Linked DNA regions of Homo sapiens: regions 1, 3, 4 and 5 are each linked to region 2. The links are contacts of gene promoters, found by promoter capture Hi-C in blood cells and fetal thymus (Javierre and others, 2016). All regions are on one chromosome and are shown on one strand. Each heading gives the region's core, a stretch centred on a gene start or on the middle of the fragment in contact. The rest is flanking DNA. Distances are from core to core; before and after follow the strand shown. Region 1 has its middle 170 kb from the start of LINC02836. Region 2 holds the start of ATG5 (autophagy related 5). Region 3 has its middle 150 kb from the start of LINC02836. Region 4 has its middle 99 kb from the start of LINC02836. Region 5 has its middle 23 kb from the start of CD24.

Region 1 (2,700 bases), core at 167-2,666, 530 kb after region 2:
ACTGCACACTTTCTCTACTGTAGAAAAGTCTGCATGGAAAACTGTATATTTGCTTCCTGTTTTTTGGCCTGAGAGTAGTTGGGATGAGCTGTAAAGATAGCAGCTCCCAAACATAATGCCAGAGTTCAGTCTGGATCCTTTAGGTTCCGACCTCCACACAATACTTTCTCTTTCCCTTTCCACCAAATCATTAACTTCTTGAATTAGTTGTTCACAGCCAGTGACTTTTCTCACCTACACTTAACTCCCATGAGTAGGGACAATATTGCATTCATCTTTGTATTGTGACATCTTCTTCCCAGAGGTCAGGACAGGTTTTGCATATGGTAGGTGTTCAAGACTTGTTTGTTGCTGTTACTGCCAGAATATTTCTTGGAAAAATACTTCTCACCTTGACCCTGAAGAGGCTGGATGATGCACGCAGCAAGCAGTGGATTTATAGTTATAAATTTCAAGTATCATTCCCGATCTTAGCACTTACTAGCTATGTGACTTGGGGTTAAATCACTCACTACCTCTTAAGCTTCAGTTTCTTCATCTACCAATGAACAATCCTTTTCCGACAAGATTGTCATGAAGATCAAGTGAGATCAGGCTGTCTAAGTGTTTTAAAGCCCATATAAAACTAAGAGTTTAGTAATGATCAGAGTCAGAACAAAGGAACTGGCATGACCTTAGTGACTATTGTTAACACCCACCACCTTGATCTACTTGTCTTTTCATTTCTGTATCCTTAGCACCTAGCACAGTGCTTTTCAGAGTAGGTTCTCAATAGATTTTTTTTTTAAATGAATGCCCATGTTATTAAAGTCAATTTTCATCTTGCTTAGGTGCTGGCTGGGGGAGTAGAAGTTAAATGGTTCCAAAACATTTCATGTGAATGTGAATGAAGGTGGTGGGTACAGAGATGAAAAGTGTTCCCCTCTTGGGGGGGCCTCAGGAAGCGAGAGTGGTTCTAGAAGCCCCTGAAGCTCCAGGCCTCTATATGGTGTGTCTGCCAAGCTCAGCCTGGCCTATCCCCTGGAGCAGATAGTCCTGATGAGATCTCTTGGTTGTGACTCTGTTACTGGGACACTGATGAGAGGATCAGGAGTGATACTTGGAATGATGCTCTGGGAGGCACACTGAGAAGAGTCGGTTGCTTTTGGAAAGGAGACAAAGAAAGTCAACTAGGCCAGTATTGGCCATAGCCCAGAGTCAGGAGAGTGGAGTTGGGTAGGGAGGAGATGATGATTGGAACACACTGTGGTCATCCTGGGCCATTGCAGCGACCATTGATGTGGGTGTACAGAATCTTCTGGTGTGCTCTTTCAGTTGTATTAACCAAGTAACAAAACACCAACCTCATTATGTGTTCATAAAGAAATCTTTTCACTGAAAGCATTCTTTTGAAAATTAGAACAGTAATTTAACCAACTTGTTTTTGTTTTGACCACCTCATTAAGGAATTATCTAATGTCAAATGGATTTGTAACCTTTGCAGAATAAATAAGGTTTTGATTTTATTACAATACTGTTTCCTACTCTTCCACATCCCTCTGAAAGAAATGGTTAATCAGCAGGAGCATATACTTTTCCTTTGTTCTACTGCAATTTATAGAAAGACTTATAAGGTGGTTTTTCCATGGAGATAGGTTTTTTCTTCCCTTCCTCCACCTACTGCAGAAAGTCATTGCAGGGAAACCTAAGGCTTATGACTTTCTTTGCTTGTAGGCTTTGTGCAGACCTGTTCACAGTCTCTTCAGCCTTAGGACTGTTGGGAGCCTAGAGAGACTGCTGGTGTCCGCTATACTTTGGTGGGATTGTCCTCCCTCAGCCAGCCTCATCTTCAGCTGTCACCTCAGCTGTCACCCACCATGAGGCCTTAGTCTTCCTAGGGTGGCATTTCAGTTGCACCGTGGATATGCTGGACTTCCTCCTTCTGTTGAGCATTTCTCAAAACAAAGCAAGACCTCTGTGGGAGGATGTGGGACAGCCTGAGCCTGGGTTGACAGTAGAACCTGGAACACTGGGAGAGAACACAAACAAGGACATTGCAGCGTGGAGAAAAAACTTGGCAGAAACAATGCAGATCCAATGCCTTGGCTTGGAAGAGGAACAAGGAATCCAATTATAGTACACTCTGTATAGAGAGTTTAAAAAAAGTGCTTTTGTTTTGCTTTAATCCCATAGAAGTAAATGACAGAATATGAACCAGATTGAGAGTGAGTCTTTTGTTCAAGATTTTCCTTTAGATGGTGTCAAGATGGAAAACATCTTTTTGAGCTTGAAGAATGCTCTAATTTGTAGAACAGCTAATTAAAGCTTCTTACAACCTGATTGACCTGTTGTGGTATTGTAAGAGCTAAGGAAAGAATTTACTCCCTACAGGACTGAAGCATCCTTATCCTATATATACTATGTGTCCTGTGTGCTATCCACCCTGGGGGGTGGGCACAATGTTCTAATGACCCTCAAATCCCTAGTTGTAGTTCCTTTCCTATAAGGGATGAGAGTGCAAAGGTACGCAACAGAGTAACAGACAAAAAGCCTGTCACCCACAGCTTGAGAATTGTATTTTGTCCATTTAGACCTATATAATCTATGCATAAGCGGATATATCGATATCACATGTAAATATATATTTATGTGCAAATACATAAGCATCATATATAACATGCAAGTTTTCATTCTGTAATGAGAACAAGTATCAAAGGAGCC
Region 2 (2,700 bases), core at 38-2,537:
TTTCTGACTGCTACCCTTACTAAGAAATGTATTTCACATTCCTATCCAGTGTACACCACATACATACTGAAGTAAAAATTTTGGGACACAATATTTACCCTTTACATGTGTGAAGCATGCTGATATTTTCTATTTTATTTCATTTAAAAAGATGCTGGGCATGCTTCCCTAACTTGATTTAGATACCCACTAATGTACTGTAATTTACCATTTGAAAATCATTGTACTTAGTCCAACTCCAAGAAGATTTTTCTTTTTAAAAGAATCCTGTGGCTACTACTAGAATTTTCCTTATGTTCCCAATTATCAAGAACCTGTTTTGAGTCTCAGCACAGTACTTACTTAACATGCATGGCGTTAAGGCACGTGTAATTAAGAGAAAAACCTTAAATGCCTGCTAAGACTTCTGGATAGAGCCAATTCAAAGATTCTTTATTAGTAAGTTTACCAATTATTACTATTTTTTTTTTGAGACGGAGTCTCGCTCTTTCGCCCAGGCGGGACTGCGGTGGCCCTATCTTGGCTCACTGCAAGCTCCACCTCCCGGGTTCACGCCATTCTCCTGCCTCAGACTCTCCAGTAGCTGGGACTACAGAAGCCCGCCACCGCGCCCGGCTAATTTTTTTTGTATTTTTAGTAGAGACGGGGTTTCACCGTGTTAGCCATGATGGTCTCGATCTCCTGACCTCGTGATCCGCCCGCCTCGGCCTCCCAAGGTGCTGGGATTACAGGCGTGAGCCACCGCGCCCGGCCCCAATTATTTTTACAAAGAGTAAGATAAAGATATGTACTCTTGGATGGGTGGGAGGGTTCAGTGCTCATATAGTCTTCTGTTAAATTAGGTTATTAATGCCTGCGGTGGTTCCAACAAAGTAGAGAAGAAGATCAAATAAGAAAATGGATGGGAAAGTACTTTGAAAACTAATGTTTTATTAATACTGTTGTGTGATGCCAGGAAGAAAGGGATGTTGCGATCAAGCTCTAGGGAGGCAGTGTTTCAGTATTTTAAAAACTGTTTTTGTGGAACTGTTAAGTTAACCTCCCCAAGCCCCAATAACTACGCTTTGACGCAAGATTCTCAGAAGAGGGTAGAAGCTATGAACTTGGAGAGGTTTGGTCGCGAGTTCAAGCGTACTGCCCCGTTGGCGCATGCTCAAGAGCGACTCGGGCCTCCTTGCTGGGTTAGGCAGAACACGGAGGGCGGAGTTCGGACCACGTGGGGTCTCGTGACGTCATCTCCGGGCGCCGAGGGTGACTGGACTTGTGGTGCGCTGCCAGGGCTCCGCAGCGTTGCCGGTTGTATTCGCTGGATACCAGAGGGCGGAAGTGCAGCAGGGTTCAGCTCCGACCTCCGCGCCGGTGCTTTTTGCGGCTGCGCGGGCTTCCTGGAGTCCTGCTACCGCGTCCCCGCAGGACAGTGTGTCAGGCGGGCAGCTTGCCCCGCCGCCCCACCGGAGCGCGGAATCTGGGCGTCCCCACCAGTGCGGGGAGCCGGAAGGAGGAGCCATAGCTTGGAGTAGGGTACGTGTGTGTGTCCACCTTGTGTGAGGAAATTCCTAGAGGAGGAGGGCTGGGGAGGGGCCAGGTAGGTGTGGTAGGAAGGAGGGGTGAGTAGTTGCCTGGAGGAGCGCCCGCCCGGCCGCGATGGCGGGTGAAGGTGGTTCCTCCGGGCAAGGTGGAGTTGGCGAGACGCCGGCCCGGAGCCCTGGGGCCGGTTGGCGGGTGTGGCCTGCGGGGTCCCTCTTGGGGTACATGTCTGTTGCTTACTAAGGTAGGAAAGCGAGAGTCTAGTCGCAGGCTCTAGAGTTCAGTTCAGGACCTGAATTGTTTGTGGAACACAGTTATTTAAACCTTTATTGCACAGTGCAGTGTGAGTCTGTCCAAACTCGGTGGGTATGTCCTCCAAGCAATTTATCTATTTACGATATTCCCTGTCTCAATAACAATATTTAGTGCTACCAAAGACATTTTCTGTTGGCAAGACACTTTTACATACTTCATTTGTACTTTGGATTATTTTAAAATTATCCTGAACTTGAGGAACCTAGGAAACTATTGGTTCTAGATTTTTCTGAGGGGTGAGGAGGTACAGCCTGTCTTGAGCAATCAGAACCCGGAGACTTACCAGACAGTAGCTGAACTTCCAAAGCCTTCCAGAATTGGCTTGTTAAATTTCTGAGACCTTGAAACTGGATACTTGGCTCTGAACTGAACTATTTGTGATTTCCATAGAGGGAGTTTCTGGTTGAATTTTGAATTTGAAAATAACGATGTTGTGCTCAGGGTAGTAATTGAGAGGTATTTTACACCAGATTTAAGCCTGTGCTTTTATCTTCAAAGATATGCTACTTAAAATTGGGGGAAAGTGTACAGAATGGAACTGTATGGATATGGATTTTTAGAATAGTGCACACACCTCAAGTGTGTATTTATTTCATTAATTTCCCCCAAACTGAGTACCTCCTATGTGTTAGGCACTGGACAAAACAGTAAACAAAATAGTAAACAAAAGAATAAAAATCCCTGCCATCATGAAGTTCCACTTTGGGGATGGGGTGAGAAGACATTGATACAAAAATTAAGGTACAGTCTTTCCTGTCCCTCGGCATCTGTGGGAGATTGGTTCCAGGACCTCCCTTGGATACCAAAGTCCTCAAATGCTCAAGTCCCTGATATAAAATGGTGTAGTGTTTGCAGATA
Region 3 (2,830 bases), core at 56-2,555, 540 kb after region 2:
GAGGCAACGTGTCTGTTGCGATCAATTATTTCATTTATTCATCATGAGCTGGAGACAGTCATGGACCTTGTTTACAGGAAGTTCTTTAGAAATGAGCTTTCCTAGCTTAACTGAACTTACAGCAAATCGTGTCACTCAGAACTCCACCTGTATTATTTTCTTTCATTTTTACCTGACCAGGTAAAGGGGGATAGGGTGGGGACCCTCTGAAAACCACATGCTTTTCTCAAGAATTTCTGCCGGTCCAAAAACAGATGGCAGAAATGGCATAAACATGCCTTTGGATTGTAGGCAATGTCTTGTGTCTTCTGCACACTCTGTGGCTACTTCTAGTGTAGTGTTGACCCTGTGTGATCTGTTCACCTGTCAGGCTTCTCACTAGATCTTGAGCCCCTTGAAACCTGGGTCCAGGTCTTATTCACCTTTTATACCCTCGGTGTCTAGCATGTTGTTAGAGCTTACTAAATTATAATAGTATTACTTTTTTATGCCCCATCCCATTCTGCCAGAGAACTTAAGAGATTCATACACATCCTTGTTGAATTAACAAATGTTCTTGAATCACATGTACTTTGATACCGAGAAGGCAAAAATCAGTCTAGGCACACCTTGATGAAACGGCAGAGATGACTCACCTCCCAACTGGGGGCGGGAGTGGGTGGGGAGAGAGCATTTGTGGAGTCATAGGATGATGGAGGCCTCTCCGGCAGGAGGCTTTACCGAGATTCCCTGTTATCCCTGTTTGTGTAATTCCCCCTCTGACTTTACATGAACCCAGACAGTTGTCTGGCATCGTCCGTGTCTGTTACACAACCAAAATGTGTTTTCTTGTAAGCTTTTCATTTCCCTTAGCAAACAGGTTTTGGCTTCCATACCTTAAAAAATAAAAATTAGGAGAAGCCTTATGGAAGAGCTATATGCATATATATAGTAAAAATATCGTTACTAAGGACCGGCATGGGGAGCCCCACCATGAAGATGAGGAAATGGGAGCCCAGAGGTAGTCGTCCTGGCTTAGGTCAGCCAGGGTCCCAGCCCCTGAGAGAGAATTGGATGTACCACGTCTGCTTGATCGGCTTGGCCCACTATACCTCATTGTTCTTTGGAGAACTCTTTCCTATTGAACTGAAGATGTGGGATCCCTAGCCAGAAGGAACAGTTCGCTGTGAATCAATTTATCCCATCACTTCGGCCCACAGGGAGAATGCTGGGTGGGATGCCACAGTTCCATGATGGAGCCTCAGCGTCTTCTGCAACAAAGGATGAATTTCAGAGTGACCACAGGAAAACAATACTGCTTTTGTTGTGGAAAATGTCCTCTAATTTTCCTCCTGGTTGTGGTTGCTGCAAAGGCTGTTTGTTCATGCAAGTGTTTATAGCATGCCTTTGCACTTTGTCAGGGGAAACTGGCCTTCCATCCTGCCATCTTGCAACACGACTTCTGAGTGTATTTCACTGATCCTAATAATAGACACTGTGGCAACCACCTGTACTTAAGGTCATTGTCTCATGGGTTTCACTCTAATGCTCTACTTCCTGGTGTCATAGTCAAGCTCTGAATGGGCACACCCCTTCCCAACTACATGAAAATATGTCATTAAGAAAACAAACAAAACAACTGGCTTCTCCATGAAAACCTCATGACTGACACTCCGTGAAGTATAGTGTTGATAAACCTGTTGTTCGTCCTCCCTAAGCGTGAGCTTGGTAGATGTCCACTACCTTAATCACCAGGCAATCTGAAGGAAAGTATTTTCTGTTATCGTTAAGCTTATTCATGAAACGTGGAGTGCGTTTATGCTTACATCACGCCAACTGGATTCAGTCGCAAGGACTGTAATTCAGACAATCCAGTCCTACAGGTCATCGGGACATATTTCTTTCAGGCACGATACCTATTTACACATTTGATACCTGACTTGTAACACACACTATATTCTTGAATAATAGAAACAAAGATGAGGAAAGCCCCAAGCGATACAGCACCGAGAACACTCTGGGCTTCTTGGGTTTGGTCACTATATTCCTTTCCCTTTTATTAGCTTCACCGTCCAAGTTGCTTAATCTCTTTTGGTTTGGTTGGTTCATCTATAGACTGGGGGTTGATAGTAGCATATTACCTACAGCCCACTTGACTGATGATATTTTATCACTGATGATATTTTAAGACTCCTTAAGGTCTCGTTCTTCCCTGCAGGTTTTTTTTAATTGATTCAAATGAAGGGCCCTTTCACTGCCACTGAGATTAAGTACAGTTGAATATAATCGGCCTCCACCTTTATTACCCCCACCTCCCTGCCAGTCCTGCTCCTGTTCAGGAATAAGTCAGGTGGCATTGGATGGTAATATATCATCAATTAAGCATCATCAGGTGAGCTCTCATGTCAAGATTCTTGGGTTCGAAATTTTATCCAATGATCTAAGTTAGATGGGCATAACCAATTCAGAGTGATCTTATCATGATCCAAATTATTTGTGCAGGTTCTTGGAAGTAGCAAGCATCCCTCTTTGTGCTGGGTTCCAACATATAGGAGCAGAAACCTTCAAACCATATTGTCCTTCCTCCTTATGCCTGCTTAGGGTTAAATAATTGTCTGATTGTAAGTTGTTTTCAGCACAGCTGGGCAAGTGGTTTTAAGAGATTTTAGAGATGAAACTTTGAAAACAATAACAACCAAAAGAAATGACTGTCGGGGATATATTTTATGATCATCTGCAAATAGTTACCACATAGAACGTGTCGTTAATAAACTGAATTACCCAACAGTCTTCCTTGCTGGATGTGCTCTGTTTCCTGCATGTGCGTCTGTTTTTATCACAGCTTGGCATC
Region 4 (2,700 bases), core at 19-2,518, 590 kb after region 2:
CTTCCTTTCCCATCAACTGTGTTTGTTTCCCTAATGTATAATTTATTCCTGTTGTTAGTTTTCTTCTCTCCCCAGGTCCTTGAGATTGTGAACATTGTTTCCAGGACTATATTTGTTTCCATAAAATTACCCTCTCATGAAATGATTTGTCAGATTCACAGGTTTGTTATACTTGAATTTTACCTGATGCTGTAAAGCCTGTTCTTTTTTCCCTTTCATCCCTGCTAATTCTAAAGCGAATGTATTCCATGATCTTTAACTCATTTTCTGAAGGCAATCTGAATCCACCCAACCCTCTGAGCATTGAATCTAGGAGTAAATGAGTCTCACATATACTAAATTCGAGTGATGTTAGGTTCACAGGATTCTCAGAGAAGCCTAGTTATCTTCAAGTGAGCCTAGGGACCAGGTCATTCTGAGCCTACTAAAGAGGACACGTGCTTCATTAGGTTAGGCCTGGTTCTGACCCTTACCTTCCCAGTGTCCTCGAATTGACCAGGAGCCAAGCTGGAGCTCCTGGAATCCTTCAACAGAGGAATGAATTAATCTGGCATCCAAACTGGAAATGGAAAATTTCTTCAAATTTTGTAACCATGGCCCCAGGGGGTGGGAGGGAGACTGCTGGGTGGAGTAGTGGGAGGCATTGTTTTCTTCTTTCTGAAAAGAGAATTTAAAATATATGCATAATATTTTGAGTTGTCTTTTCCAAATGAAAAAAATATTTTAAGGAAAATACACCCACATTGTAGTATAATTTGATCTGCCCCAAAGTGGGGCACACTGGGGACACTAATTGTGAAAATACAACTTATACACAGAAAGCAACTTTCTAATTATATTGACTTTTAAATGTCTGCAGTTTTAGTTACAAGAGAGTTACAGTAAATCACATTTTAAGGTATTTAAAGTGACTATAGGTTTTGCTTGTTAAGGACAGCCAACTGAAGATCAGAGGCAAGCATCAATATTAAAGTAAATAATGAAGCAATCATCTGACCTTAATATCCCCTATCGTGTCAAACTGATACTTATTTTCAGAAAAAGCTTTGCAAAACAGACGGTAGTGGGGAGAAAACAGTCTGCACGTATTTATCGAGGATCTGTTTTTCTGTGCGGAGGTTTTTTGAACATATGCCATTAACATTTCCTTATTTATTGTTCGCTCTTTTGAACATGTCATTGTACTTTTACTTGCCTTACTTTTTAAATAATCAAGTTGGATTTTTTTTCTGTATTTATGAAGCATTTATATTACTTTCTTGTCAAAATCTGGAATATACTCTTTTTTAAAAAGTTGATATAATAGTCATTTTCTTACTGATTTATAAAATGTATATAAATTAATATAATTAACCTCTATATTTTCCCCTAGTTTATTGTTTTCAAATTTTGTGTATGGTGTTTCTTTTAAGTACAGTGAAAAATGATTTTATAATATTTATCAGCCTTTTTATTTATATTTTTGTCTGGTGTTACACACTGAAAAGCTTTTCTCTCCTTAGACTATGTAGTCCCTTATTTTTTATTCTTGTAAAATTATGGGATTTAAACAATTTATATTTTAGAGACAGGGTCTCATTCTGTCACCCAGGCTGATGTACAGTGGTATGATCATAGCTCCCTGCAGCCTCAAACTCCTGGGCTGAAGCAGTTCCCGTCTCAGTTTCCCAAGTAGCTGTGACTACAAGCACATGCCACCATGCCCCATGCCTGGCTTTTTTTTTTTTTTTTTTAATTTCGTAGACACAGAGGCTCACTATGTTGCCCAGACTGGTCTCAAACTCCTGGTCTCAAGTGATCCTCCTGCCTCAGCCTCCCAAAGTGCTGGATTACAGGCATGAGCCACTGCATATAGCCCTCATTATGGTTTTATATTTTGCGTTTCAATATTTAATCCATCTGGGATTCATTTTGGTACCTTATATATTGTGTCAATTTGATTTTCTGTTTTCCCACAGATTTAGATGGTAGTTTTAACCAGTTGTTGAGTAATTCATTTTTCCTTTGATGATTTGAGATGCTAGCTTATCCTGTATTAATATTTTATATCTTTTTAAGGCTGTTTATGTAAAGTTATTAATGTCCTGGTATGAAATAAAACATTGAGCATTCTTTGATTTCCTCCTTTTCCTTGCTCAGTTGACTTACTACCCTTATTTTTATTATGCTCTAATAATTCTTTACATTATTTACACTCTCTTGACATTTGTATTAGGTTTTATAACTAGGTTTTGAGTTTGTTCTTTTTATTAATTTCTAAGTCAGCTGGTGTATATTTTCACTTCAAAATATCAGAAAAGATAAATGATTTCTGGTCTTTGTTTATCTTTGTATGTCCAAGAATAGGTCTTTCTGTTGTTTATATACATTAGAAATAATAGGAATGAGTAGAGAATTTGAGGACTTTTTGTTGCAGGGGATGACGGGAATGATACCTGGAAAATATCCCTTTTCTGGGAAACAAGATTTTGTTCATCTCCCTACATGTGGCTTGTAGGATTTTTCTTTCCCATTAAAATTCAAAGGTTGGCCAAGTTAAGTCATTTCATTAATTTTACCTCATACTTGATAAACTTTTGAAATCTAAAGATCTGAATCTCCCTTTGGTTGAGGTCAAAGGTTTTCTGTAGTTTATGTTAGCTTTTTGTACGTTTGCTTTATTTTCTTCTGGAATTTCTAATATACATATCATTTCCTGGA
Region 5 (2,786 bases), core at 197-2,696, 670 kb before region 2:
GAGACAGGGTTTCCCCATGTTGGCCAGGCTGGTCTCAAACTCCTGACCTCAGGTGATCTGTCCGCCTCGGCCTCTGAAAGTGCTGGGATTGCAGGGGTGAGCCACCGAACCAGGTGGAGCTTTTAACTATTCTTCTGACAGCAGCCCTGAGAGATTGCCTGGGAGACTTTATCTGCATAATAAGACAACATTGATGGTCTGGGCGGTGGCTCATGTGTGTGTGTAATCCCAGCACTTTGGGAGACTGAGGCAGGTGGATCACCTGAGGTCAGGAGTTTGAGACCAGCCTGACCAACATGGTGAAACCCCGTCTCTACTAAAAATACAAACATTAGCCGGGCGTTGTGGTGCGCACCTGTAGTCCTAGCTACTGGGGAGGCTGAGGCAGGAGAATTGCTTGAACCCGGGAGGTGGAGGTTGCAGTGAGCCAAGATCATGCCACTGCACTCCAGCCTGGGTGACAGAGTGAGACTCTGTCTCAAAAAAAAAAAAAAAAAAAAAGAACACTTGTTCACAGTAATAGTCCACCCCTCACCTTCCTGCCGCCTTCCCCAGTGCTCAAAGGAACTTTGTCCCCAGCCATCGTTCTTTGGCTCATTCATTTCCTTTGGAAATCATTTACTCCTACAACCCCTGTCTCCCTTTCCCCATGGAGAAGAATATAAGCAGCCGGGCCTCATCGGGTTACTGGGTAATCATAGTCTTGTGATTTTCTTCTATGCACATTAAGTAAATTTCGTATGCCTTTTTCTCCTGTGTATCTGCATTTCATCAGTTTATGCTCTGCAAACCTTCAGTGGGCAGAGAGAAAGCTTTCCCTCTGCCCCCAGTGTGGCAACAGGCCTGACTGGGGCAATGCTGCTGCCTTGCTTTTGACGCCCCCCACACACGACCGCGTCCCCCTTTCTGCTCTGTGGAACGCCTCCAGCCCCTGCTGAGGCTGGCTTGCCCATGGCAGAATGTCACCTCAGGTTGGGGGCCTTTCAAAATGCACCCCAGAGAGCTCTCCTGGGAGCCCACGTCTGGAACGTAGAGCTGAGTGTCTCTGGCTGACGTTGGAGGATGGGCAGGCTGCCCATGATGCAGCCCCTTTCCTGCTCTGGCACAGCCTTGACCTTTAAATTTCTCATTCTTTTTTCTTCTTCCACTAAACTCTAAGAGATAAGTGTTTGTCTCTCCCGTTATTCCCCTAAGAGCACCTCTCACTGGACTGGGGTGAGGAGAAAGCGCCTTTGCTCTGCAGTTCCTGCAGGGGGCGCTTGGCACCTCACTTTGGAACCTGAGAACTTGTTTTGTTGAAGGCCTTTGAGCTTCGGTTGAAATGGAGACAGAAAGGACTTCCATGTTCACATCCTGTTACACTCTCCAGCATAAATATGATCATTTTCATTTTACAGGAGGCTCAGAAAGGCAAGTCTGTGGTGGAAGTGGGTGAGCTGAAATCTGAGCTCAGGTCTGCTTGATCCTGTAGGTTACAGATGAGACAGAAATGATATGCCCTGTTGTACCCAGGGTGGCCACATCTGAGGCTCTAAGACAAATAAAAAATTACCACCATAGTGGAAAGATTAAATTCTCATGTACAACCAAATCAAAGTCTTCATATACAGTTAGAATAAAACACAAATTTCAGAAGAATGACCCACATACGTGTCGGTTTATTAGTGAGTGAAGATGTGTTTTAGAAACTGGTTATATAAATCAAAAAACTACCATCGAAGGGCTCTAAGATTAGCCAGGAGGCTTAATAGTATCCTAATTTAAGAGTTACTTGAAGATATTTTCTAAGATTGCTGTTTCTGTTGAGATATAAAATGGCTCTTAGCCTAGGATGTTAATAAATTCAAGATAAAGTGAGTAGGCGGAGTTAGAGTAAAAGGTGGCCTTCCTCTCATTGTGCTTGGATTCTGGTGGTTCCTGTGTAGAAATTCATTTGCTGAGGACTTATTATGTACTAGGCACTTTACTAGGTACTGGGGAAAGGAAGATGAACATGATGTGGTTCCTTTCTTTAAGGAGCTCAGCTGGTGAGGAAAAAGCTGCAATCCCTGTTACACGTACAATGACAGAGGAAAGCTTGGGGACTTGGGGGATGCAGGGGTGGACACTTCAGAAAGGCCCTAACCAAGGCTGAAGGGTAAGGGATGGCTTTCCAAGGAGATGACACTAATCTGGGTCCTGAGAAATGCATAGAAATCATCCAAGCAAAGAAAGACCTTGGCTTGCGTTCTTCCTTGTGTTGTGCTGGGCCCCCAAACAGGCAAACTGGGAAGGCACAGTCACCGAGAGACCGAAGAAAAGACCTGAAGACAGTGGGTAAGACATAGAGTTTAGGGCGGGCATGGTGGCTCACACCTGTAATCCCAGCACTTTGGGAGGCTGAGAGGGGCAGATCACCTGAGATCGGGAGTTTGAGACCAGCCTGATCAACATGGAGAAACCTGGTCTCTACTAAAAATACAATATGAGCTGGGCATGGTGGCGCACGCCTGTAATCCCAGCTACTCAGGGGGCTGAGGTAGGAGAATCACTTGAACCCAGGAGGCAGAGGTTGCAGTGAGCCAAGATTGTGCCATTGCACTGCAGCCTGGGCAACAATAGTGAAACTCCATCTCAAAAAAAAAAAAAAAAAAAAAGACAGAGTTTATTCAGGGGACTTATGTATGGAGTGTCCAAGAGTGGAAGGCTGGACAGGAGTTCCACTGCCTTTTGTGGAAAGCATGCAGGTTAGTAGGAACTCCCACACAGCAACCTCTACTTAGCAACCTCCACCTAGCTTAAAACAA

Evidence for each region. Contacts are between HindIII fragments. The CHiCAGO score rates a contact against its expected background, and 5 or more counts as called.
Region 1: a contact is called between a fragment that was not itself captured here and the fragment with the promoter of ATG5 in region 2, in 1 of 17 cell types (neutrophils). The highest score is 5.8, in neutrophils.
Region 3: a fragment that was not itself captured here is called in contact with the fragment with the promoter of ATG5 in region 2 in 1 of 17 cell types (neutrophils); the score reaches 5.1 in neutrophils.
Region 4: a contact is called between a fragment that was not itself captured here and the fragment with the promoter of ATG5 in region 2, in 1 of 17 cell types (activated CD4 T cells). The highest score is 5.4, in activated CD4 T cells.
Region 5: a contact is called between a fragment that was not itself captured here and the fragment with the promoter of ATG5 in region 2, in 8 of 17 cell types (neutrophils, M0 macrophages, M1 macrophages and 5 more). The highest score is 12.6, in neutrophils.

Annotation. Positions count from the first base shown.
Region 1 is chr6:105,798,549-105,801,248 of GRCh38, reverse strand. No RefSeq gene overlaps it. Among named protein-coding and RNA genes, the nearest start is that of LINC02836, 170 kb to the right of the region's middle. The HindIII fragment of the contact is 1,781 bases long and covers 526-2,306 here.
Region 2 is chr6:106,324,347-106,327,046 of GRCh38, reverse strand. ATG5 (autophagy related 5) reads left to right here and starts at 1,287. Exons shown (of 8, transcript NM_004849.4): 1 at 1,287-1,521. RefSeq lists enhancers at 1,088-1,407, 1,428-1,477. The HindIII fragment of the contact is 6,577 bases long and covers 1-2,700 here.
Region 3 is chr6:105,779,262-105,782,091 of GRCh38, reverse strand. No RefSeq gene overlaps it. Among named protein-coding and RNA genes, the nearest start is that of LINC02836, 150 kb to the right of the region's middle. RefSeq lists a silencer at 1,392-1,592. The HindIII fragment of the contact is 935 bases long and covers 838-1,772 here.
Region 4 is chr6:105,729,740-105,732,439 of GRCh38, reverse strand. No RefSeq gene overlaps it. Among named protein-coding and RNA genes, the nearest start is that of LINC02836, 99 kb to the right of the region's middle. The HindIII fragment of the contact is 443 bases long and covers 1,047-1,489 here.
Region 5 is chr6:106,996,272-106,999,057 of GRCh38, reverse strand. No RefSeq gene overlaps it. Among named protein-coding and RNA genes, the nearest start is that of CD24, 23 kb to the right of the region's middle. The HindIII fragment of the contact is 1,264 bases long and covers 815-2,078 here.